Regions from separate parts of the Homo sapiens genome. Here all the other regions are linked to region 5. The links are contacts of gene promoters, found by promoter capture Hi-C in blood cells and fetal thymus (Javierre and others, 2016). All regions are on one chromosome and are shown on one strand. Each heading gives the region's core, a stretch centred on a gene start or on the middle of the fragment in contact. The rest is flanking DNA. Distances are from core to core; before and after follow the strand shown. Region 1 has its middle 78 kb from the start of LINC02552. Region 2 has its middle 120 kb from the start of LINC02552. Region 3 has its middle 160 kb from the start of LINC02552. Region 4 has its middle 62 kb from the start of LINC02552. Region 5 holds the start of GRIA4 (glutamate ionotropic receptor AMPA type subunit 4). Region 6 overlaps LOC102723879 (a long non-coding RNA gene). Region 7 has its middle 140 kb from the start of LINC02552.

Region 1 (3,067 bases), core at 354-2,853, 1.1 Mb before region 5:
CAAAAGAAAAGAAAGGTTACCATAATGGTTAATTTTATGTGTCAACTTGCCTTCATTAAGGGATTTCCGGATGGCTGTTAAAACATTATTTCTGGGTGTGTCTGGGAGGATATTTCCAGAAGAGATTATCATGTGCATCAGTAGACTGAGTAAAGAAGATTCCCCCTTAGCAATGTGGGCAGGCATCATCCAATCCCTAGAGGGCTTCAGTGGAACAAAAAGGTGGAGGAACTGCAAACTTGCTCTCTTATCTGAAGCTGGGGCATCCATCCTCTCCTGCCACTGGACATCAGAGCTCCAGGTTCTTGGGCCTTTAGACTCTGAGGCTTCTTATATCAGTGATACTCCACATTCTTATTCTCAGGTCTTTCGCCTTGGGTGCTCAGGCCTTCAGACTCAAGACTGAATTATGACACCACTGATGTTCCTGGCTCTCCAGCATGCAGAAACCATGTAGTGAAACTTACTGGCCTCTATAATCACATGAGCCAGTTCCCAAAATAAATTTATCTTTAATACCTGTGTATATCCTATTGATTCTGTTTCTCTGGAGAATCCTAACACAGTCACAAAGAATTCATGCCTCAGCGGAGTATAAGTTTGAATAAAGAATACTGACAAGCTGAGAAGCTTGTTGAAGCCCTAGGGGATATGAGATGAGTAAAGAAATGTGTTAATAAATTGTGGCCGGTTACCATTCTACAGAATTCAGTATAATAACAACTGCATAGAGTTTTATTGTTAGGAATATATATATATATGTCATTTAAATAAATTAATATACAAAAATATATAGCCTTTATGTTAGCCTTTATATTATGGACTATACAGTTGGGATTATGACAGAATTAAAGGAGAAATTAACATCACCCAGAGACAAGATGGACACCATAATGGTTGGGACTTTAAGTATCATATTGCATATCATTAGGAGGCTGAGTGGTCAAAGCAGTGGACCGCGCCATTTATTGTTTCCTCTCAGCACCAGCTCTACCCTTCTGTGTCAGCCTACTGATGCTGGGTCTAGCACTGCAAACTGCCTATCTTATCTCCTTTGCCAACTGGCTTCCTATTGTTAAATTCTGCCAGTAGGGGGTGGAAGAGGAAGGCTGGAAGGTAGGAATCTGCTGTACCAGCAATGTCCCAGCAACAATACTCTGCCCTAGCAGGAGCTAGTCAGCTTCTTGCAGCCTCCAGCTTCTTTCCACATGTTAATGCCAGGTTCATTGTGCCCACTTAAAGGTTCAGCAGCAGCTAGACTGCACCCTGTCCTCAGAGTCAGAGCTCAAATTCAAACACCCCTCCTCACATTGAATTTATGTAGTTGTATTAGTCCATTTTGCATTGCTATAAATAAGTACCTAAGACTGGTTAATTTATAAAGAGGTTTATTCGGCTTATGGTTCTGCAGTTTTACAAGAAGCATCTGCTCCTAGTGAGGCCTCAGGGAGCTCACAATCCTGGAGGAAGGTGAAGGGAGACCAGCATGTCACGTGGTGAGAGAGGGAGTGAGAGAGAGAGATGGGGGAGGGAAGCCCCAAACTCTTTTTAACAACTAGATCTCCATGAACTAACAGAGTGAGAACTCCTTACCACACTGCACCTCAGGCACCAGCTCTTTATGAGGGATCTGTCCCCATGCTCTCAGCGCCTCCCGTCAGTCCCCTTCTCCAACACTAATCACATTTCAACATGAGATTTGGAGGGGACACACATCCAAATTAACCTCTTCTATATATTTCCAAAGTCATATGGATGGTAGCTGCTTCTTGTAGTTATTATCTCGGGATTGCATTAGTTACTATGCCTGAATTACTTTAGTGTTCCCAATTGCTCATTCAGCCTCCAACGCCTGTAAAACCAGTTCCCTTTATTATAGTCTCTATGTTGAAATATCTAGTGTGGTTTCTGTCTTCCTGACTTCTCAGTGACAAACATAGTCTCTCATAGATTTAAAATTGCAATAGCTTCATATTGCTCCTAGGGTAAGGTTCAAAACTCTCTGACTTGGCGTATAATGCTCTTCACATTTTTGCTTTTCTGACTTGCCTTCTACCACCTCCACCTATTATTCAAGTGATTCCAGCCAAATTGCCATTCCCAGGATGCTTCATCCTCTAATCCTTTTCATATGACATTTTCCCCACTTACTTTGTATGATGTATACTTTTTTTCCCAAGCAGCACAATCTTTTTTTATTTATCATCCTGTTTCACTTCATATACTCTTTTGATCTTTCAGGACTTGTGTCTCATACTCTAATGACTCTTCAAGGATCACGTTTTGAACACACAAACACAAATCTCTGAACGTACAGGAAGAAAGAGGGGAAGATATCACATACATACATCACAATCTCCAAGGCTGTATTAGCTGTCTTTGCTTGTTGCTGTTTTAGCACATAACGCTGTAATGAATGGTTTGTGTACTCCAATAGCATAGTGCTAATTCCCAATAGGAGTTCTTTAAGTAGTTGGCAAATAACTTAGATAAATACAATATAAAAGATAGGTGAGGAAAATGCCAAGAACAACTACAAAAAAAGGAAGATGTTCTATTGGATTAAAAATAATTAAAAAGCTTTAAGGTTCATCAAAGTCTATTGTGAGTGAATATATTGGGCCCATCTGAATAATTGAGGATGATATCTTATGTTAAGATCAGCTGATTACCACCCTTAATTTCAACTACACTCTTAAATCCCTTTGCCAAGCAATGTAACATATTCATAGGTTCTGGGAATTAGGACGTGAAGATCTTTGGGGGACCGTTATTCTATCTAACACAATCACTATTAGAACACTTAGAAAAGACATTGTGAATTAGATGATTATAAATTACCACTCAGGTTCTATGCCATTCTCATAGTTTTCATCACAGTCTAATTGATTCAAGGGAATTTTCTTTATTCACCACCGGAATAGCCCAATGTGAATGCATGTGCTACTTTTCACTTATGTTACAGTTTTTCTCATTTCTGTGTATCAATGATTAGTGAAGATGGAGTTTAGAAGAGATTAAATGAGTATACAATATAGTCGCCAGCCAGAAGCCAGCAAGAGACCTG
Region 2 (3,457 bases), core at 349-2,848, 1.1 Mb before region 5:
GATCCAGGAACTGCACTCTTTTCAAGGATGCTTTTCATTTTTCAGAGATGAATGTAAATAAGCCCATACAGCCTCTAGGGAACAAAAATAGAACCCCACCATTATCTGCTAATACACATTGGAGTAAATTGTATCCACCCTTTTACTCAGTATCTTAGCTGAATCAGGTTCAAAGCTACTCATTTCTTTGGGGATAAAGACGACAATTAGAATCTTTTCTTAGCTGGTTCAATTTAAAATTTAGACTTTGCTGATAATTTTTCTTTGGCTGATAATGAAAGTTGTTGGCACATTTCCCAGCCTAGATACTTATCTATAAATAAAGTTGTATGCTAGTGTGGCCAGAAAGAACATTAGTGCCTGCATCAGATAGTTTGAGATGGCTACTGGCAGAGAGCTATGCTGCTGTAAGAAATGAAGGCATTAGAAGCATGACAGTGCAGACTTGGGCTGCTTGTATGCCCACATTAAAATGTACATAATAAGCCAGGGGCAGTGGCTCATGTCTGTAATCCCAGCACTTTGGGAGGCTGAGGTAGGCGGATCACCTGAGGTCAGGAGTTCGAGACTAGCCTGGCCAACATGGCAAAACCCCATCTCCATTAAAAATAAAAAATTAAAATTAAAAAATAGCCAGGGATGGTGGCATGCATCTGTAATCCCAGCTACTCGGGAGGCTGAGGCAGGAGAATCACTTGAACACAGGAGACAGAGGTTGCAGTGAGCCAAGATTGCACCATTGAACTCCAGCCTGGGCAACAAGAGCGAAACTCCATCTCAAAAAAAATGGAAAATGTATATAATAGTCTTTCCTATACAAAGTATAGGAAAAGTATAACCTCCTCTTTCAAAGATATTTATCCCTCTAATTATTTAATAGTGAGCTGTTGAATTAAACCTTTTGATAACTCTTTGATCAATAGATGGATATCAAGGATTTAACATGAATTAACTCCCATTTGCTGGATATGCACATATTGCTGAGAATAGAACAGGGCTGTAAGGGAGCTACAGTTATTGAGTTCATAGCTTTAAGATTTTATTTCTTTTTTTTTTTCTGTGCAGGGTCAGGTGGAAGCTGGCCAGTAGGTACCACAAAAATAATGAAAATAAAGCATCATGAGTGCTGTGAGGGACAAAGTACAGGATCTCCTTCTGGGTTGCTTTTCTCTTCTGTTACTATTTTCTTCCCTGCGTTGCTTGACTGAATTCCACCCAGTCTTCAGGTCTCAGGATAAATGTCACTTTCCAAGAAAAGCTTTTGCCTACATTGGATAGCCCTATCCTAGACTTCATGCAGCCTGTACTTTTATTTCATAGCAGTTGACATGTTGGTATTTATATCATTTATATGGGGTTTTTCGATATCTCTTTTTTTCCCACTAGAGTATAAATTCCACAAGAGCAGGAACCTTGCCTCTCTTGTCATCACATCTGAGTGCTTCATACTGTGTCTGGCAAATAGCAATGGTATTTAGAGGGTGAGCATGTCACATACTCTGTGTTCGACACAGTTTTATGTACAGACATATTTGTTAATCCTCAAAAGTTGTTTGAGGAAAGTACCATAATATTTCCCTTTTTAAAGATTGAGAAACTGAGATAAAGAGATGTAGAGCAACTTCTATAAACTTTCACTGCCAACAGGGGCCAAGTCTAGATTAAACCCAGGCGCTCTTGCTTCAGACTTTGTGTTCTTAACCACTTTTTTTTTTTTTACTGCATTTATAGATAACCCTTTGTCAAATAAGTCAAAGAATAAATTAATGAGCTAGACAAACTAATACCAAAGTGCCTAACCTACTTTAGCAGTCTTACATGTCTTTTGAAGATATAAAGATTAAATGAAAACTGAAAGATGAGTAGGAGGACTGAAATTTAGCCCTAGCATTTGGGCAAAAAAGTGTGGATATGCAGAAAAGTATATTCCAGGTAAGGTAAGCTTCATAGATGAAAGTTTGGAGATGTACGAGTATAGATACTTCTAGAAATGAGTAGAATTTCATTTTACCTGGCAGGCATGCTGAGTGTGAGAGGCATCTTGGTAAGGCTGTAGATCTAGGCAGGGCCTAAATGATGGGAGGCTTTATAAATACTTTCTAAAGAAGTTTTATAGGATTTGACGGAAAGGCTTAAAAGACAGGAGTGACCCAATCAGATAGGCGTTTTGAGAATGCTGCTGCCTATATTGTAGAAAAGCATTTTAAGCAAATAAGTCCAGAAACAGAGAGAAAAAGCTGTTTGGTAGTACTTGAAATAAAAGATTTGGTGACCTGTACTACAGTAGTAGCAGTAGGAGTGGAGATAAATATTTGGATGTAATAATATTTAGGATTAAGAGACAAAAGGACTTCATGATTGAATACAGGAGTGTGAGGAAGAAGTTAGTCATCGCAAGTTATTGAAATATGAAGTTGGAGTCAGGAATAGGAAAGAAAGGATCAGACTTTGAGGTGCCAGTGTGGTTTTCCAGTGACCATGATTATTAACAGTTGAGAATGTTTCTCTTGAGCTTAAGAGATATACGTCTAGGCTAGAAATACAAATTTGGGATAGTTTAAGTAGCAACTGAAGCCATGAAAGTCCAAGGCAAAAGAAAATAATTACCAGGACAGATGTCTCAGGACTTGTCAATGTGAACTGTAATGAGTTTGTTGTTTCTTAGCCTCAGGTTTCTATGCTGTAAAATGTCAGTGTGAAGAATGTACTTCACAGGGTTAATATCAGGCTATTATGAAACAACTGTGAAAACCTCTGGAAGTTGTGTACATTCACTAAAGCATAATTCCATCTCTTTGTTTCTACGTAGTTAAAATAACTTTCTTTTTCAAGTAATCTCAAGAGGAAACATAAAACTTGCATCAGCAAGTGAATACTAAATTTCCAAGGATTGTAATGGGAGTTTGTAGGAAAAAGAAAATATCCTCTCTCCTAATTAAATGTCTATTCTGGAGACTGATTTGAATAATAATAAAAATCCAGTCTCCTGTACAGCTAGCTCTGTGTAAATTAATCTTTCTCTATTGCAATTCCCTTGCCTTGATAAGTTGGCTCTGTCTAGGCAGTGGGAAAGGTGAACCCATTGGGCAGTTACAAATTTGGGGGCTCGTCCAGGATTGCCCTTGTGGCTGCATACCCATAGTTTGGTAGCCCCCCGTTCCAGCGATGGATCCAGAGGCTGGCCCAAGTGGCCACCTAGTTCTCTTGGACTGGGGGCTGACTCTGTTACCATCTCTACTGGCAGGACACTGCCGACCGAACATGTATGTATTTATTTGCATTAGAGAAATAATCCGGGGAAGACATCTCTTAACTGTAGCCCTATCACAGGGTATCTGTCTGTAGCCACATAGTGGGGTGTCTATCTGCAGCCCCATTGTGGGGTGTCTGGGTTAGTGAGTATTCTAGGCACTGCCAATGGCTTTTCCTTCTCCAGACTGGTTCAGAAGCCCCATGG
Region 3 (3,194 bases), core at 467-2,966, 1.2 Mb before region 5:
AATCAGTGAGAATATTCTATATTATTAATGCCAATTTTTCTAAATTAATCTATGTAATGCAATCTCAGTCAGACTAAATATGCAGATGATGTGGAAGAGAAAAAGTGAAAGAATAGAGAAGAAAAGGAAAAAAAAGAACCAATGGAAAAAGAATGATTCATTTGAATGAGAGAAATTAGATTTCTAGTTCATAACATTTTAAAATCCACATTGATTAAAGAACTAAGTGCAATAAAATAATTATGAAAATACTGTCAAGAATATTTTAGCGTGGGGGGCCTTTTGCAGTAGAAAACAAAACAGACAGCCATGCAGGAAGAGAAGATAACTTTAACAAAATAATGATAATTTTAAACTCTTCTTTATGAAGAAAGATACCATGAGCCAAATAAAAAGACAGCCTAGCACAATAGAAAAGATGGAAGATAAATATTAAAGCTTAATCATATATAAATAATTTTCTTAAATCGATATGGTAAACACAAAAAACCCAACAGAAGAAAAATGGTCAATGGCTGTTAACAATTCACAGAAAATCAAAGTTTCTCAACCTCATTTTCAATGATGGTTATATAAACTATAACAGCACTGAGATTTTATTTTCCCGTTCGATTTGTAAAATTTTTAAAAATGCCTCAATACTTTCAGTTGGGATAAAAATAATAAAAAACAGAAAATTTCAAATACTGTTTGAATATAAGTTTTATAAAGTAATCAAGAAATTTCTATCAAAATTTAAAATGTGAATACCCTTTATCTCTCACTTCTTCCTTCCTCAATTTTCTTCTAGATATTCTCCCAAAAAGGGCATTTAATTGCAGCAAGTTTTCTAGTAGGAAAATAGAGAAAGATTAAATAGTTATTGATTTGTGTAATTTGATAATAGATTCTGTAGCCATAAAAACAATTGGAAACAAATATACTTCTCTACCTATGACAAATATACTTCTTTACCTATGACAAATTTTGTAAATCATTAATCTTATCTATTATATGAACTGCAAAAATTATCTTCATTCATGTATATATGCGTAAATATGTATGTAAATGTATAAGAACACTAAAAACATGTAGAATGTCTTAAATCTTTGGATTTTATTGTGTATATTTCTTTTTTATGGGGGTCTTATTTTAACTTGTGCATACAAAAATTTTAATTTTGAATTGCTTTTACAAAATGTGTTTAAAAACATATCAAAAGTTAATACTAATAATTTTTGTGAATGAGGGAAAAAACTAGTCTCTTTAGTAACTGTAGCTACATAATCTCTATGGTAACTACACTTAACCAAAAACCATACCCACTACTTAATGAACACATACATGTGTCAATTACTATATTTATTAAATTTTTGATTTTATAGATGAGAATACTGAGCTAAGAAAACTGTCCAGATTTACAGAGCTAAGAGTTCTCAAAGATGTTCACTATTTTTTTTAAGTTTTTTTTTTTTCCTTCAACTTTTGTCTTAAGTTCAGGGGTACATGTGCAGGATGTTCAGGTTTGTGAAATAGGTAAATGTGTGCCATGGTGGTTTGCTGCACAGATCATCCCATCACCTAGGTATTAAGCCTAGCATCCATTGTCTGTTCTTCCTGATGCTCTCCCTCCCCACACAACCCCAACAGCTCCAGTGTGTGTTGTTCCCCTCCCTGTGTCCATGTGTTTTCATCATTCAGCTCCCACTTGTAAGTGAGAACATGTGGTGTTTGTTTTTCTGTTCCTGCATTAGTTTGCTGAGGATAATGTCTCCCAGTTCCATCCATGTCCCTGCAAAGGACAGGATCTTGTTCTTTTTTATGGCTGCATAGTATTCCATGGTGTATATGTACTACATTTTCTTCATCTGTTCTATCATTGATGGGCATTTAGGTTGATTCCATGTCTTTGCTATTGTGAATAGTGCTTCAATGAACATACACATGCATGTATCTTTATAATAGAATGATTTATATTACTATGGGTATATAACTGGTAAACATTACAAGCTCATGGATAAGAAGAATCAATATCATAAGAATGGTCATATTGCCCAAAGTAATTTATAGATTCAGTGATACTCCCATTAAACTACCATTGGCATTCTTCACAGACTTAGAAAAAAAAACTATTTTAAAATTCATATGGAACCTAAAAGGAGCGCAAATAGCCAAGAAAATCCTAAGCAAAAACAAAGCTGGAGGCATCACACTACCTGTCTTCAGATTATACTGCAAGGCTACCTAACCAAAACAGCATGGTCTTGGTACAATAACTGACACATAGACCAATGGAACAGTAGAGAATGTAGAAATAAAACGGCACACCTACAACCATCTGATCTTCAACAAACCTGACAAAAACAAGCAACGAGGAAAGGACTTTCTATTTAATAAATGATTCTGGGAGTGCTGGCTAGCCATATGCAGAAAATCAAAACTGGACCCCTTTTTTACACTGTATACAAAAATTAACTCAAGATGGATTAAAAACTTAACTGTAAAACCCAAAACTATAAAAATCCTAGAAGAAAATCTAGGCAGTACCATTCAGGAAGTAGGCACAGGCAAAGATTTCATGATGAAAATGGCAAAAGCAATTGCAGCAAAAGTAAAAATTGACAAATGGGATCTAATTAAAGAGCTCTGTACAATAAAAGAAACTGTAATCAGAGTGAACAGACGACCTACAGAATGGGAGAAAAGTTTTGCAATCTATCCATTTGACAAAGACCTAGTATCAAGACTATACAAATAACTTAAACAAATTTACCAGAAAACAAACAAACAAACAAACAAACCCCATTCAAAAGGGGGTAAAGAACATGAACAAACTCTTCTCAAAAGAAGACATACATGAGGCCTACAATCATATGAAAAAAAAAGCTCAACATCACTGATCATTAGAGAAATGCAAATCACAACCACAATGAGATACCATCTCACACCATTCAAAATGGCTATTAGTAAAAAGTCAAAAAGCAACAGATGCTGACAAGGTGGCAGAGAAAAAGGAAAGCTTTTATTATACATTGTTGGTGGTAGTGTAAATTAGTTCAACCATTGTGGAAGATAGTGTGGTGATACCTCAAAGACCTAGAGGCACAAGTATCATTTCATAATCACTATTAATAGTTTAATTTTTTAAAGGTGAATATTTAGAATATATTTTATTTAGATATATTTTAATGTAATGTATTATAAATACAAAATAT
Region 4 (3,391 bases), core at 745-3,244, 1.1 Mb before region 5:
TAACTATCTCCTAATACTATCATACATCTGACTCTGGCATGACAACTTGATCCTGATTCCTAATAACACTTTTGTTAGATAGCAGAATTTTGATATTTTTCATCTTTAGCTGATTTCTATTATCTAATAAAAAATGAGGTAAAAATACTGAAAACTGTTGATGGTGGTGGTGATGATGATAGAAGAGATAGATACTGTATGATCCAGAGACTAAAATTGTTTATATATAATATTTCATTTTCACAATAACTCTATAAGGCTGTTATTGTTAGCATGATTTTTTCAGATGATATAACATTATAGATAGTGTATAAATTGCCCAAAGTTACATAAATTAAGAAATTTTGAACTAAGATTTGATCCCAGGTCTGGCTCATATTCGCTGTATTCCTATCTTCTATAAAATCGTCTTCCCTAAGTAGAATTTATTGACTGCCAACTGTGTTTCAGGCATGCGTATTATTTTTATGTGTTATGTTTGTATATAAAGAGACTATCATGAATACACCAGTGGTTAGGTAGATCATTCTCAATTTTTTTCTGTTTTCAAATTTCTTGTACTTCTTTGTGACCACATTCTCTATATGCATCACTGGTCATTTGTGACACAGAGTCAAAGGCAGGAATTTTCTAGATATTGCTAGAACAACACTGCAAAGGCATCCAGTGTCATCCGACTCTTTTAAGTTGAGTTACTGAATACCCCCTTGCTGGTTTATATTTCACCAATGTTGATAATTTAGAAGTTGAGGCCAGTAGTGCATAATAAATTTTAATCAGCCAAAAAAATACAACAGAAGATTTGGTTGCAGGGTTTTACACTAACACACACACAGTTTTGTATGTGTACATGCATATACATATGAATATATGCAGGTATATGTATATATATGCATACGTATACACACACAGTCTTCATCCAAGTATTACATGAACCCATAAATGTTAAAGTGGTACTGATTGTTTTGATTTTCTTTCACTTAAAATATTTTTGCTTGTCTGACAAGTACTATATATGAGTGGTTTTTGACAGATTATTCATCATGAGGATTAGTAGAGCATATAAATCATAAATCAGTGAAAATGCAGAAACCCTACTAGAAGAAGCACATCTGAGAATTGATTGAAACATATCAAAAGAAAACATTAATCAACATCTGATTCAAATAAAAAGATATAGTTCAAGGAAAAAGGATTGTCAAAATTTTGGTAGGCAGAAAATAGGAAAAAAAAGTACAAGGAATCCTCTTTCTCTTTCTCTCTCCTGCTCTCTCTCTCTCTCTATCTCCATATATATATGACTTTCTCTGAGAATAAAGAGGGAAAATTTGGGCTAAGGTTACAGACTGCATTCTAACCACCTCTTCTGTTTCCTGTAACTATTTTCTTCTATAAATAAAAAGTTCACCCCCCGATCCTATTTGGGAAAAGGAAAAGAGAATAGCCCAGTGTATTTACTCCAGGCTACTGGGCGGTAGACTTGAAGCAAATGTGTTGAACTGCTATCCTTTCCTTGGTAATTCAGCCCTAGTAGACCTGGTGTCACTGGTTCTTCGATTTTATTTTGTCTCTTGCTCTCTAATTTTGTCTCTTTTTGTGTTTGTGTCCACAATTTGGCAGTGATCCTTTATCAGTCATTGCTGTAGTAAAGAAACTCTCAAGACAAGCTACCTTAACAACCATTCACATACAGATTCCTAAGTTTCTACATGTGCACATTCACAAACTGAAGAATAAGACAGAGAGAGAGAGAGAGGAGAGAAGAAATAGAGTGACAGAGAGAGAGAGAAAGAGAGAGAGCAACTGAGAGAATTCACCCAAATCATGATCAATGTGTATTATTGTTATATTACTATATCTACTATGTATCTGATATGTCCCTTTCAAATTCACTTAAGATCTAAATTCCTGGATGAGAGATTATATTGTTTGCTGGTGAAACCCTAAGTAGCAAATGCTATTTCAATGGAAATTCCTATTTAATAAAACTAGTTATAAATCCCATTAGGAGGTGAGCTTATTTCAATAAATATTTGCTGTAGCACTGGCTAAGTACAATGAGATGATTTAACCATGTTCTTGAATATACAGTCATATGTAGCCTAGCAACAGAGGCACATTCTGAGAAATGCATCATTAGGTGACTTCATCATTGTGCAACCATCATAGGGTGCACTTAGACAAACCTAGACGGTACAGCCTACTATCCACCTAGGCTATACGTTATAGCCTGTTGCTCCTAGGTTACAAACAGGTACAGCATGTTTCTCTACTGACTATTGTAGGCAATTTTAATGCAATGTTAAGTATTTGTGTATCTAAACACATCTAAATATAGAAAAGGTACAGTATAAAAGATAAAAAATGGTACATGGTTTAGGGCAATTACCATGAATGGAGCTTGCAGTACTGAAGGTGGCGCTCTGAGTGAGTCTGTGAGTGAGTGGAGTAAATGTGAAGGCCTAGGACATTAGAGTACACCACTGTAGTAGACTTTATAAACATTGTACACCTAGGCTACACTCAATTTATTAAACAAATTTTTTTCTTCAATAATAAATTAAACTTAGCTTACTGTGGTATTGTAATTTTACTTTATACACTTTTTTAAATTTTTTGACTCTTGGAATAACACCTAGTTTAAAATACAAATACATTGTACTGTTGTATAAACATTTTATTTCTTTATGTAATTATTCTATAAGTGTTTCTCTATTTTTAAAATGTGTGTGTTTTTTTTAACTTTCAAACTTTTTTAAAAAAATTAAGACTCAAACACACAGATTAGCCTAGTCCTATACAAGATCAGGGTCACTCAAATCATTGTCTTTCACCTCTCCATCTTGTCCTACTGGAAGGTCTTCAGGGGTAATAGCAGGCACAAAGCTGTTAACTCCTATGATGACAATGCCTTCTTCTGGAATCGCCCCTGCCTGAAGCTATTTTATAGTTAACTTTGTAAAAATATATATATTTAAGTGGAAGGAGTACACTTTTAAATAATGATAAAAAGTATAGTAAATATTTAAACCAGTAACAGAGTTGTTTATTATCAAGTATTATGTACTATACATAATTACATGTGCTATACTTGTATACTACTGAAAGGACAGTAGCATTGTTTATGCCAGCATAACCACAAGCACTTGAATAATGTATCATGGTAGGGTAGCATGACAGCCACAAAATCTCTAGGTGATAAAAATTTTTCAGCTCTATTATAATCTTAAAGGACCACTGTCTTTATGTGGTTGGTCGTTGACTAAAATGTTACAGGATGCATTACTGTATGATGTTTACTTCTCTGCTTGGAAAACCCAGATTATTTTCAACATACAACATCAGTTTAAAACTGGAATAAATATATCTTTCAGTTAGTATGTTGGTGTAA
Region 5 (3,052 bases), core at 79-2,578:
GTTACAATTAGGTTTTTTTTTTCATAACAATCTGTGGTGAAATGTAACGGGAAAGCAGACACTTATTTTAAAGATGCAATTTTAAAAATAAAATTCAAAACTTAGGAAATAGAAAAGCACTCAAGTTTTAGCAGGGATTTTAAAATGTCATCTACAAACTACAAATACAGGTAATCAGTGACACCAAATAAAGTATTTTGAAAGAGTTAAGGTAATGTATATTTCAAAAAGCCGTTACCAGGCTTTCTGTAAGTCCCTTGCAAGAATTCCACTTTAAGCATTGTAGTCTCAAATATTATATCAGGCAAACCTAGGCATTTGCTATATTCTTTTTAAAAATTTAATGGCAGACATCACCCTAGGTTCCCTAACGTTTAAGGAGAACCTCTCCTTCTAATGATTCTCTCACACAGCTTATTGGAACAGGAGATTGTATTTACTAACTAGATCAGGAAATCTCAAACCATACAGAGGAAATCAGAAACCGGTCACTCACGGCTACCACAGTGACTGCTTCTGAGTGTGGTTCAAGCTCAGTCCAGGACAGGCAGATGAAAGGACAATCTTAAAGGTGACTCTGGAGAGCAAGTGAGACTGTAACCCCAAAACTTTCTAGGATAATTCATTTTCACTTCTACCCAGTCAAAACAACTATTGACATCATCACTGAAGTGCTTAAGTCTACCTGGAGGTGGCGTGGAGCAGAGTGAGCATTCCAGAGTCCCAGACAAGAGGAGATGTGCACGAAACACTATCTTCCTGTCAGACACCTGTGCCCACTGCCCCAAGCACTGCCCCTCTGGTCCTTCATCAGCCTTTGCGCTGTGTCCCTCCTGCTCCTGCAATGGGCCACAGCACAGAAGGAAAGAGTCCTCCGGAATGGGTGACTGTATAGAAAGCAATCGAATCTTTAATCACTTTTCCTACTTTACACTTCACGCAGTTCTTATTCCTATCCCTGCTTCATGCCTTTCCAAGAGAATGTTAGAGGCCTCTTTCAATTTTCATTTCTCAGTCTTTTCCCCATCCCGTTCAGTACCCTAAACTTCGTCAGTTATTTAAAATAACCTTTTACCCCCTCCTCCCCTTCCCAGGATGTTTCAACTTCTCTGGCTCTCTTCCCCATCCTTACCTCCTCCAATTCTTTCATCCTGGTCCTGGCCTCTTAAACCCGCCAGGGGCTGCCCTTTGCCTGTCTTTTCTCCTCCCATCCCTCTCTGAACCCTTTCACCTCATCCATTCCCTTGTCAGGCTCTCCAGATTCCCGGGCTGTTTGCTGGTGAGAAATCTTTGCTGCAGCGAGGACCGGAGTCCCCCGCGCGCAGCCCAGTGGCAGAAGAGGGCTAGGCTGAGAGGGAAGCCAGGACTGTAGGAGAGGGAGGCAGCCCGTCCTCCTCACGAACCTGCAAGGATGCGGCAGGGGCCTGGGGGCATGGGGAGGTACTAACCCCCCGGAGCCCCCGATTGGGGCTTGCAGACCTGGCCCGTGGGCGGATTTTCTGCCTAGCGCAGCCGAGAAGCAGAGGTGCCAGGAAAACCAAGAGAGGGGCGCTGGGGGTGCCCATCCCCAGAGTCGGTCCCTCTGCGAACCGAGGAAGAAAAGAGGAGGGAGTCAGCGAGTGGTCAGAAGGGAAAACCTGACACCAGACTGGCTCCGGAGCGTCCGGGAGACTGGGGCGCTCCGGTGAGCACCCAGGGGGTGAAGCCAGCCGAGCGGTGGGCGAGGGGCGTGCGGAGGGAGTGCGCGCTCGAGGAGGGGACGCCAGGAGGGCAGCGATGCTCCGGGCTGGTGCAGGCTTGCTGGGGGATGTCGGCTGATGCGAGCTGGAGAGCGCGTGTGGCGGCCGCGGCGCCAGTGTTTGTGTGTATGTGAGAAAGCAAGGGGCGAGCGCGAGTGCGAGTGAGGCAAAGATAGAGCGCATGTCTCATCCCTGCGAGCAGCCACTAGACGCTCCACCACCATCTTTTGCATGTGCAACATTTGCAGCCGGACAGAAAACCTCTCCCAGGGCTATGGAGACTGCGGGAAAAATCTGGCGGCTCGCGATGGATTGCTAAGGAGAACTAGTCATAATCTTAAACCACCGAAACCTCTTTCCTTTTTTTTCTTTCTTTTCTTTCTTTTCTTTTTTTTTTTTTTTTTTTGGTTGATTTTAATTTTAGCGCCATCGTCTTCAATGCTTCTCTGAACAGCCTTTAGGAAGAGTGCGAGAGAAAGAGAGAGAGCGCGCGCCAGGGAGAGGAGAAAAGAAGATGAGGATTATTTCCAGACAGATTGTCTTGTTATTTTCTGGATTTTGGGGACTCGCCATGGGAGCCTTTCCGAGCAGCGTGCAAATAGGTAAGGTGTGCTCCGATGGGGTGTGCATGTGGCTGGTTGTAGCAGATATCCGAAAGTGAGTTAAATGAGTTGCTGATAAGCAATTCAGGGAAACCTTCAGCAGTTCCCTTCCCCTCTGTTTCCCTCCTCTTCCTTTCTCTCCTTTGCAAAAAGACTTCCTCTTTAGTGCAGGTTCCGTTGGAATACACCCAGGGCAGCCCACCCATGCGTTCTCAGCCCATAGCCCTATTTCCACCTTTACCTATAGTCGCTTAAGTAGGATTGAAATAAGTTGGGGGAAAGTCTTCGGGGAATTTGGTTGTATTTTATATGATATTTATTTCCATCCCTTTCTCTAAAGCATAAAGTGATGTCGAGTTTGTTTAAAAAAGAAAAAAAAAATCCACTTCTTCCCATTCTGGACGCCGCAGCTTTCTTGCTATTACAGAAAGACACTGTTTGAGGAAAAAGACATTTCCACCCGCACGCCCTGCCGTTTCTTGCTACCAGTTAGCAGATTCCAAAGTTAGATCCCTTTCCTGGAAGCTTCTCCCCTTTTATTTTGTTTTCTTCTTGAAGCTTTTGCCCTTATTTCTCTACCTCGACTCTGTTTCCAGGGACACCCTCCATCCTTGGCTTTTCTTGCTATTCTCCTCTACTGTCTTTTAATGGGACGCAGCTATTGAATTTCTTCCAGCTAAGCCCAGCCTCAACACTGCATCATTTCTCGTG
Region 6 (3,345 bases), core at 822-3,321, 1.3 Mb before region 5:
ACAGTTGCCCCCAGGATCAGTAGATGACTCAACTAAGGAGGGTTAGTCTCATGACAGGTGATTCAAACTGGAAGTATTTAGGGAGGACAGAAGGGCACCCTTAACCATCTACAGGTTCAAGGGTAAAAGGATGCATTCTTTGGCCATGCCAATCCAGAACAAAGGGAAACCTACCCTAACTGAGGACCAGAGGTATGTGGGGTGTGGGAAAGCAAACAGTCAATATATGAGAGACCCTAAGGAAGGAGAACCATCAGGTGACAGATGGGGTTGAATTAATCCACTAAGATGAATGAAATTGTAGAGAAGAGACTGAGAATATAAGGGATCTTGCTGATGATTGACTAGAAGACCCAAGGAAAGGGACCGCAGATGTTCATAAGTACTTTACAGAGTTAGAAAAGGCATGTACAGAGTCACGTGGGTTTGACAATGTGGAAGTTATAGATGACTTGGATTTGTACAGTTTTACTTAGTTGTGAGAATAGAAACTTAGTTGGAGGAAAATGAAAAACACTGGGAAATAAGAAACAGAGATAAAATTACTGTGGTGAGTACTTTGCTATGGAAAGGCACAGAGAAATGAATCGTTATCTCAGAACAGACATGAAGTATTATTTTTTTTCACCTGGCAGGGTATATCTGCAGCCTGATAAAAATTATCTTGACAAAGATCATTATCTTGAGAAAGATAACACATTATGTGGAAGACAGAATCAATGATAAGAGACAGTTTTTTGAGTGTATGAGGAAAACTGGACTCTTAAAGCTAAAGTATATGAATTAGCCTGTGATTGAACTGGTGGCACTCTATTTTAATGGTTTATATACAGTTTTTATTTAATTCCAACAAAAACCTAGTGATGTGGGCACATTTATGATCCACATCTTACAGATGAGGAAACTGATCTATGGAAGGATTAAGCAATTATTAAGCAGTTTACTTATAAAACCACTGAAACTTATACTTTAGAAGAGGACAATGAACTGAAGAAAAAACAAAAATTCCTAAACTGAGGTAGAGACTGTGGAGTAAATGCATCAGGGATACTGTTAACTTCTTTCTGGAAAGAGACAGAAGTTGTGGATTGTTAGAATTTTTTTCTTTCAACCAATTCAAACTTAAATATGCTTTACTTTGCTATTATAGCTAAAAATATTCTTATAATTCTACAGTTTGTTAATTACTTACAAAATCAAATTTGTCTGCAAGGGTTGAAATTTGAGATCACAGGAGATTTCAAAAAAATGTAAAATAGACTCAAATGATTTTAATAAGAAGAGGTAGAAATGACTTGGTCTACATCAGCATCTTTATAATAAATGTGTATTACGATATTACATTGAAGGAATCAAGCATTACACTTTTTTATGTTATGATATACTTTCCAAAATCTAAGTCATTTTGTTTTCTATCCATATCTCTGAAAGTCTTACGGATTCTAATCTAGTGATGTATTAATCTGTAAGGTATCTGAGAACTGGAGTGATGTCTATATTTTATATTGTTTTATTATTAGCCTTTACTATAATGCTGCATTTTAGGTAACCAATATATATTTACTGAATTACAAAATAATGCATATTCCTTTTAATAAGAAATCTGTAGTTTTGTAATGGCTTCAGCTTTAGGGTGCTTTCTGGGAATTACCTATCTTTTCATTTTGTCTCAAGGAATCATACATACTACTAAATGCATAAAATTCATCTAAGAGCAACATTAAGTGCTTATTAATGATATTTAAAAACTTGTATTGACATAATTTCCATGTAATAGGAATTCTTTCATTTCAAAACAAAGTTCAAAATTAAAGCCCTGTGACATGCATATAAAAAATGTTTCTGTGTTTGGTAGGCTTCATTTCTGTTTAGATCCTACTGGAAAAAAAATGGACACAAGAATTTATTTGCTCATTTACTCACTCATCATTCACTCACATAAAGATGTGACCTAGGAAAACAATGAATTAATTTTGAAGTAATCAAAACCAAACCATTTCTATGATTAAAGGCATATACATAAGAAAGCAAAGAATTATTCATTTGCCTATACCATTATTTCTGACCACAGAGAATGCAATGATCGTAAAATTTAAATGAAATTTTGTATGAACATATATTAGGATAAAATATGTATAATAATATAAAAAATCTCAAATAGATTCATGCACTGCATAAAAATGTTTCAGTTAATGATGGATTGTGTAGAAAACATTGGTCCCATAAGATTATATTACCATGTTTTTACTGTACCTTTTCTAGTTTAGATACGCAAATACTTACCACTGTGTTACGATTGCCTGTAGTATCCAGTACAGAACATGGTGTACAGGTTTGTAGTTTAGGAGGAATAGGCTATACCTTATAGCCTAGGTGTGTAGTAGGAGATAACATCTAGGATTGTGTAAAACACTCTATGATGTTTACACAGTGATGAAATCGCCCAACTGTGTATTTCTCAGAACGTATCCTTATTCAATGATGCATGACTGTACTTTCCATAGTATTCAAATTGTTATTTTGCTTAGGGAAGTGCAGACATTACATGAAACTCAAACTTGTACAATAGAACACTTAAATGGACCTTGAATGTACATACTTGAAATAATGTGAAAATTCTAAAGATAAGGAAAATATTCAATATTAACCTTCTTTTGGAAATATTTGAATCATCCTTCTTAAATTGCTTCTAATTAGACAAAATATTTACAGGTTAATTTTAAGGAATGTATTTTTTCATCGAGTGTTGACTATTCTGAAACACAAATAAAATGTTTTTACTGCATTTTGGAATTATAAAGGCTATGGTTACACAAAGTCAGGTGAATCAATTAATCAAATTGCCAACTTTTTTTTATAGCATTCAGTCCAAAATTACTCAGTTAAGTGTAGACAATAGAACATTGTTTAGCTGATCTTATTAGCCATAAACTAAAGCTGACGTTACAAAAAACTCCCCTGCAATAATTTTTTCATGTTTTATAGACACAACGTTTGCTTTATATGTTACAATATAAATTCAATGTGTCATGGCTGTAGAAGTTTCAGTAAAATGGATACAGAAATCTCAGTTAAAGGAATACTGGTTTTAATTAATTTTCCTACTCATCTCAGAATAATTCACGTTTGGGAAGAGCTAGATTACATAAGAGAATTTTTATTATTGGATTATTGGCTTAAGAATGCATTTTTGAGCCAGGTGCAGTAGCTCATGACTAAAATCCCAGCACTTTGGGAGGCCAAGGCAGAATGATGATTTGAGGCCAGGCATTCAAGACCAACCTGGGCAACATAGTGAGACCTTGTCGCTATAAAAAATTTAAAAGAAAATGTAGCCAGGCCTAG
Region 7 (3,409 bases), core at 308-2,807, 1.1 Mb before region 5:
AGGTGTGTGGTGTTCTCTCACTGTTGTCTGAATATGGATTTCCCTGATGACATACGATACGGAGCATCTTTTCTTGTGCTTATTTGCCATCTATATATCTTCTTTGCTGAGGGGTCTATGCAAGTATTTGACCTATTTTTTTAAACATACATAGTTTTAACATGCAAAACAGCAATCACACGCCAAGGAGTTGAAAACATGTCCGTGCAAAAACCTTCACACAAATATTTATAGTAGCTTTATTCATAATTACCAAAACATGAAAGTAACCAACTTGTCCTTCAATAGGTGAATGGATAAACTGTGATACATCTAGATAAGAGAAAATTACTCAGTGCTAAAAAGAAATGAGCCATCAGGCCATGAAAAGACATGGAAGAACCTTGAAGGCATATTACTAAGTTAAAGATGCCAGTGTGAAAGGCTACACAATGTATGATTCCAACCACGTGTATATGAAATTCTGGAATAGGCAAAACTGTGGCAGCAATAAAGAGATCAGTGGTTGCCAGGGCTTGAGGGAAGGAGGGAGGGATGAATAGGCAGAACAAGGAGGATTTTTAAGGGAGGGAAAATGTGGCATATCCACTATAATGGTGGACACATGTCATTATTCATTCGTCCAAACTGATAGATTATAAGACACCAAGAGTGAACCTTAATGAAAACTATAGGTTTTCAGTGGTAATGATGTGTCTGTGTAGGTTCATCAGTTGTAACAAATGTACCACCTGTGGTGGGGAGTGTTGGTAACTGGGGAGACTGTACATGTTTTTGTGGGGAGAGGATAGATATAGGAATTCTTTTTACCTTTCTCTTGAACTTGCCATGAACCTAAAGCTGCTCTAAAAAATGTTTTCTAAAAAGGTATTCTTGACAAATTTTCCTACCAGAGAAAAAAAGACAAATGAAAATAAAACCCACAGATCCTATTCCCAGCTTTAAAACATGTGATGTAAAAATTATTACCTAACCTAACAACTCAGCTATAGATTTTCACCTCTCACAGTAAATGCATCCAAAGGAAATAAACTGTGAAAACCTCAAAATCTTCAAGGTTGTTTTTGTTCTATGAAAAATAACTTACCTAGTACTAGTTATTTTATAGGGCTGCTTTTGAAATTCATTAGAATTCAAAAAAAATCTGTAAGAGTTTAGTAAAAGCTTTGGTTATTTGGCATAATGACTGTCAGGCTTTAGAAATAGATGTAAAAAAGTTTTTATATGCAGCAGTTATGAAGTCTGTGTTCTTGTTTCTCTTGTTGAAAGAAGCATTTATATGCTAATGAATTCTACTGCAATAGAATTACATATTTTACAAGTATCTAGTTGTATTACTAAAGTGTAAGTGTTTCCTGTACTAACCAATATCCTCTACTCTGCAAGATTCCTAAGCATTGTTTTCAGAAGAATAAATTAGAGGCCTTGTCATGGTTTAAAATAAAAACCTGGTTAGGTTTTATGAGTAATTAACAACAATATATTAGACTGAGTACTATTTCCAGGGTGGTATTTGTTTTATATATAATATATATGTACACACAAGTATAGGTATAATACCTACGTAGTTTATATTCTTCACAGCAAATCTAAACTGTAGATACTATTATTATTCATTTGTTAATGATGAGGAAATGGACACAGAGAGGTTAAGTAACTTGGTAATACCTCACAGTTATAAGTGGTGCAGGGAGGGTTGCTTGATAAAATACAGGTCCCCAGGTAAATTTTAACTTCAGATAAACAAATTTTTATGTGTGTTCTAAATATTTCATTGGGTATAATTAAACTTAAAAATATTCACTATCCGAAATTCAAATTTACCTACATATCCTATATTTTATTTGCTAAATCTAAAACTGTAGGTGGAACAGAGATTTCTATCCGGACTGCCTGGCCCCAGAGCTTGTGCTCCTTCCCACCACCTTACACCATTACTTGTATCAGAAAAGAAGCTTAATATACATAAAAGAGATGTATTGGGGCAAGTATAAATTGAAAGTGAAAAATGCAGCATAAAAGTTTTTTTTAATTTGCACATCCGTCATTATCATTATCATGGTTGTAATCTCTACAATAAGAGCTACCTGTTTATCATGCACTATGCTTCTTGCTTTATATAAATTAATTCATTTAAATATTACAATTATTATTTCCATTGAACAATGAGGTTTAGAGAAGTTGAGATCCTCTTCCAAGATCACACAGCCATAAAGTGGTTTGACCCCAAGGCAGGTGCTTTCATAAACCTTAAATTGCAGTTGGTACTATGGCATCCAATAATCCTGAAACCTTCGCATAAATCAGAATCACCCAAAGGATGGCTTATTAAAGCACAGATTGCTGGGCCCCACCCCAGAGTTTCTGACTCAGTTGTTCTAGAGTGGAGCTGGGAATTTGTATCTCTAAGTTCCTAGGTGATTCTCAAACTGTTGGTCTGAGACTACGTTTTGAGAACCATCTGTTGCCAGCAATTCTGTCTCTGGGCTTTTTGTATTGAATACTCAAATTTCAGTGAAAACAACATTAGAAAATAGAAGATATTGTAGGAAGATAAATAAATAGCACCTCTCAGAAAGCAAAGATGGATAAGCAAATTGAACAGGTAAGAAGGTACGTGGTATCCACATGGCATTTCATGAGAATATTTTAATGGAACTCAGAATAATTGTGAAAACCAGATTTTATGGGTGCAAAGGGATATAATTCAGGGATCAGGGTGGCATGGGTTCATCAAAATTTTATGTGTTACAAATGCAAGGTAGGGCTGAGTTGGGTGGATCATGCCTGCAATAACAGCACTTTGGGAGGCCTAGGAGGGCGGGTTGCTTGAGCTCACGAATTTGAGACCAGCCTGGGTAACATGGTGAAACACCTTCTCTACAAAAAAATAAAAATTAGCTGGGAGTGATGGTGTGTGCCTGTGGTTCCAGCTACTTGGGAGGCTGAGGTGGGAGGATCGCTTGAGCCTGGGAGGTAGAGGTTTCAGTGAGCAGAGATCATACCACTGCACTCCAGCCTGGGTGATAGAGCCAGACTATATATATATATATATATATATATATATATATATATATATATATATGACTATATATTTATGTATGACTATATATATGACTATATATATATGACTATATACATATGACTATATATGACTCTATATATGACTCTATATATATGACTATATATGTCTATATATATGACTCTCTCTCTCTCTCTATATATATATATATATGCAAGCTAGTTTTAGAAAGACTGCAGGACTATTTTTTCTTCTATTTGGCTTTTGGGGATAAAATTTTTCTCTTTAACATGAAACAAAATGTCAACAAAATCCATCAGGTATCAGGTATCACCCAATTTTTACTAGTGAGTACTAAACTAACCCTTTCTTCGGGCAATTTGAGAT

What was found. The method cuts DNA at HindIII sites, captures the fragments that hold promoters and counts their contacts. A CHiCAGO score of 5 or more calls a contact.
Region 1: a contact is called between a fragment that was not itself captured here and the fragment with the promoter of GRIA4 in region 5, in 1 of 17 cell types (naive CD8 T cells). The highest score is 7.7, in naive CD8 T cells.
Region 2: a contact is called between a fragment that was not itself captured here and the fragment with the promoter of GRIA4 in region 5, in 2 of 17 cell types (activated CD4 T cells and naive B cells). The highest score is 6.3, in activated CD4 T cells.
Region 3: a contact is called between a fragment that was not itself captured here and the fragment with the promoter of GRIA4 in region 5, in 2 of 17 cell types (non-activated CD4 T cells and total B cells). The highest score is 5.5, in non-activated CD4 T cells.
Region 4: a contact is called between a fragment that was not itself captured here and the fragment with the promoter of GRIA4 in region 5, in 1 of 17 cell types (naive CD8 T cells). The highest score is 5.0, in naive CD8 T cells.
Region 6: a contact is called between a fragment that was not itself captured here and the fragment with the promoter of GRIA4 in region 5, in 1 of 17 cell types (naive CD8 T cells). The highest score is 7.5, in naive CD8 T cells.
Region 7: a fragment that was not itself captured here is called in contact with the fragment with the promoter of GRIA4 in region 5 in 1 of 17 cell types (naive CD8 T cells); the score reaches 8.9 in naive CD8 T cells.

The regions. Positions count from the first base shown.
Region 1 is chr11:104,530,209-104,533,275 of GRCh38, forward strand. No RefSeq gene overlaps it. Among named protein-coding and RNA genes, the nearest start is that of LINC02552, 78 kb to the right of the region's middle. The HindIII fragment of the contact is 1,950 bases long and covers 629-2,578 here.
Region 2 is chr11:104,487,244-104,490,700 of GRCh38, forward strand. No RefSeq gene overlaps it. Among named protein-coding and RNA genes, the nearest start is that of LINC02552, 120 kb to the right of the region's middle. The HindIII fragment of the contact is 684 bases long and covers 1,257-1,940 here.
Region 3 is chr11:104,445,184-104,448,377 of GRCh38, forward strand. No RefSeq gene overlaps it. Among named protein-coding and RNA genes, the nearest start is that of LINC02552, 160 kb to the right of the region's middle. The HindIII fragment of the contact is 2,560 bases long and covers 437-2,996 here.
Region 4 is chr11:104,546,054-104,549,444 of GRCh38, forward strand. No RefSeq gene overlaps it. Among named protein-coding and RNA genes, the nearest start is that of LINC02552, 62 kb to the right of the region's middle. The HindIII fragment of the contact is 4,818 bases long and covers 1-3,391 here.
Region 5 is chr11:105,608,745-105,611,796 of GRCh38, forward strand. GRIA4 (glutamate ionotropic receptor AMPA type subunit 4) reads left to right here and starts at 1,329. Exons shown (of 17, transcript NM_000829.4): 1 at 1,329-1,684; 2 at 2,164-2,341. The coding sequence starts at 2,254. RefSeq lists a silencer at 2,305-2,505. The HindIII fragment of the contact is 4,294 bases long and covers 1-2,864 here.
Region 6 is chr11:104,349,815-104,353,159 of GRCh38, forward strand. All of the region lies in intron 3 of LOC102723879 (a long non-coding RNA gene), which reads left to right. Among named protein-coding and RNA genes, the nearest start is that of PDGFD, 190 kb to the left of the region's middle. The HindIII fragment of the contact is 6,828 bases long and covers 1-3,345 here.
Region 7 is chr11:104,471,257-104,474,665 of GRCh38, forward strand. No RefSeq gene overlaps it. Among named protein-coding and RNA genes, the nearest start is that of LINC02552, 140 kb to the right of the region's middle. The HindIII fragment of the contact is 791 bases long and covers 1,163-1,953 here.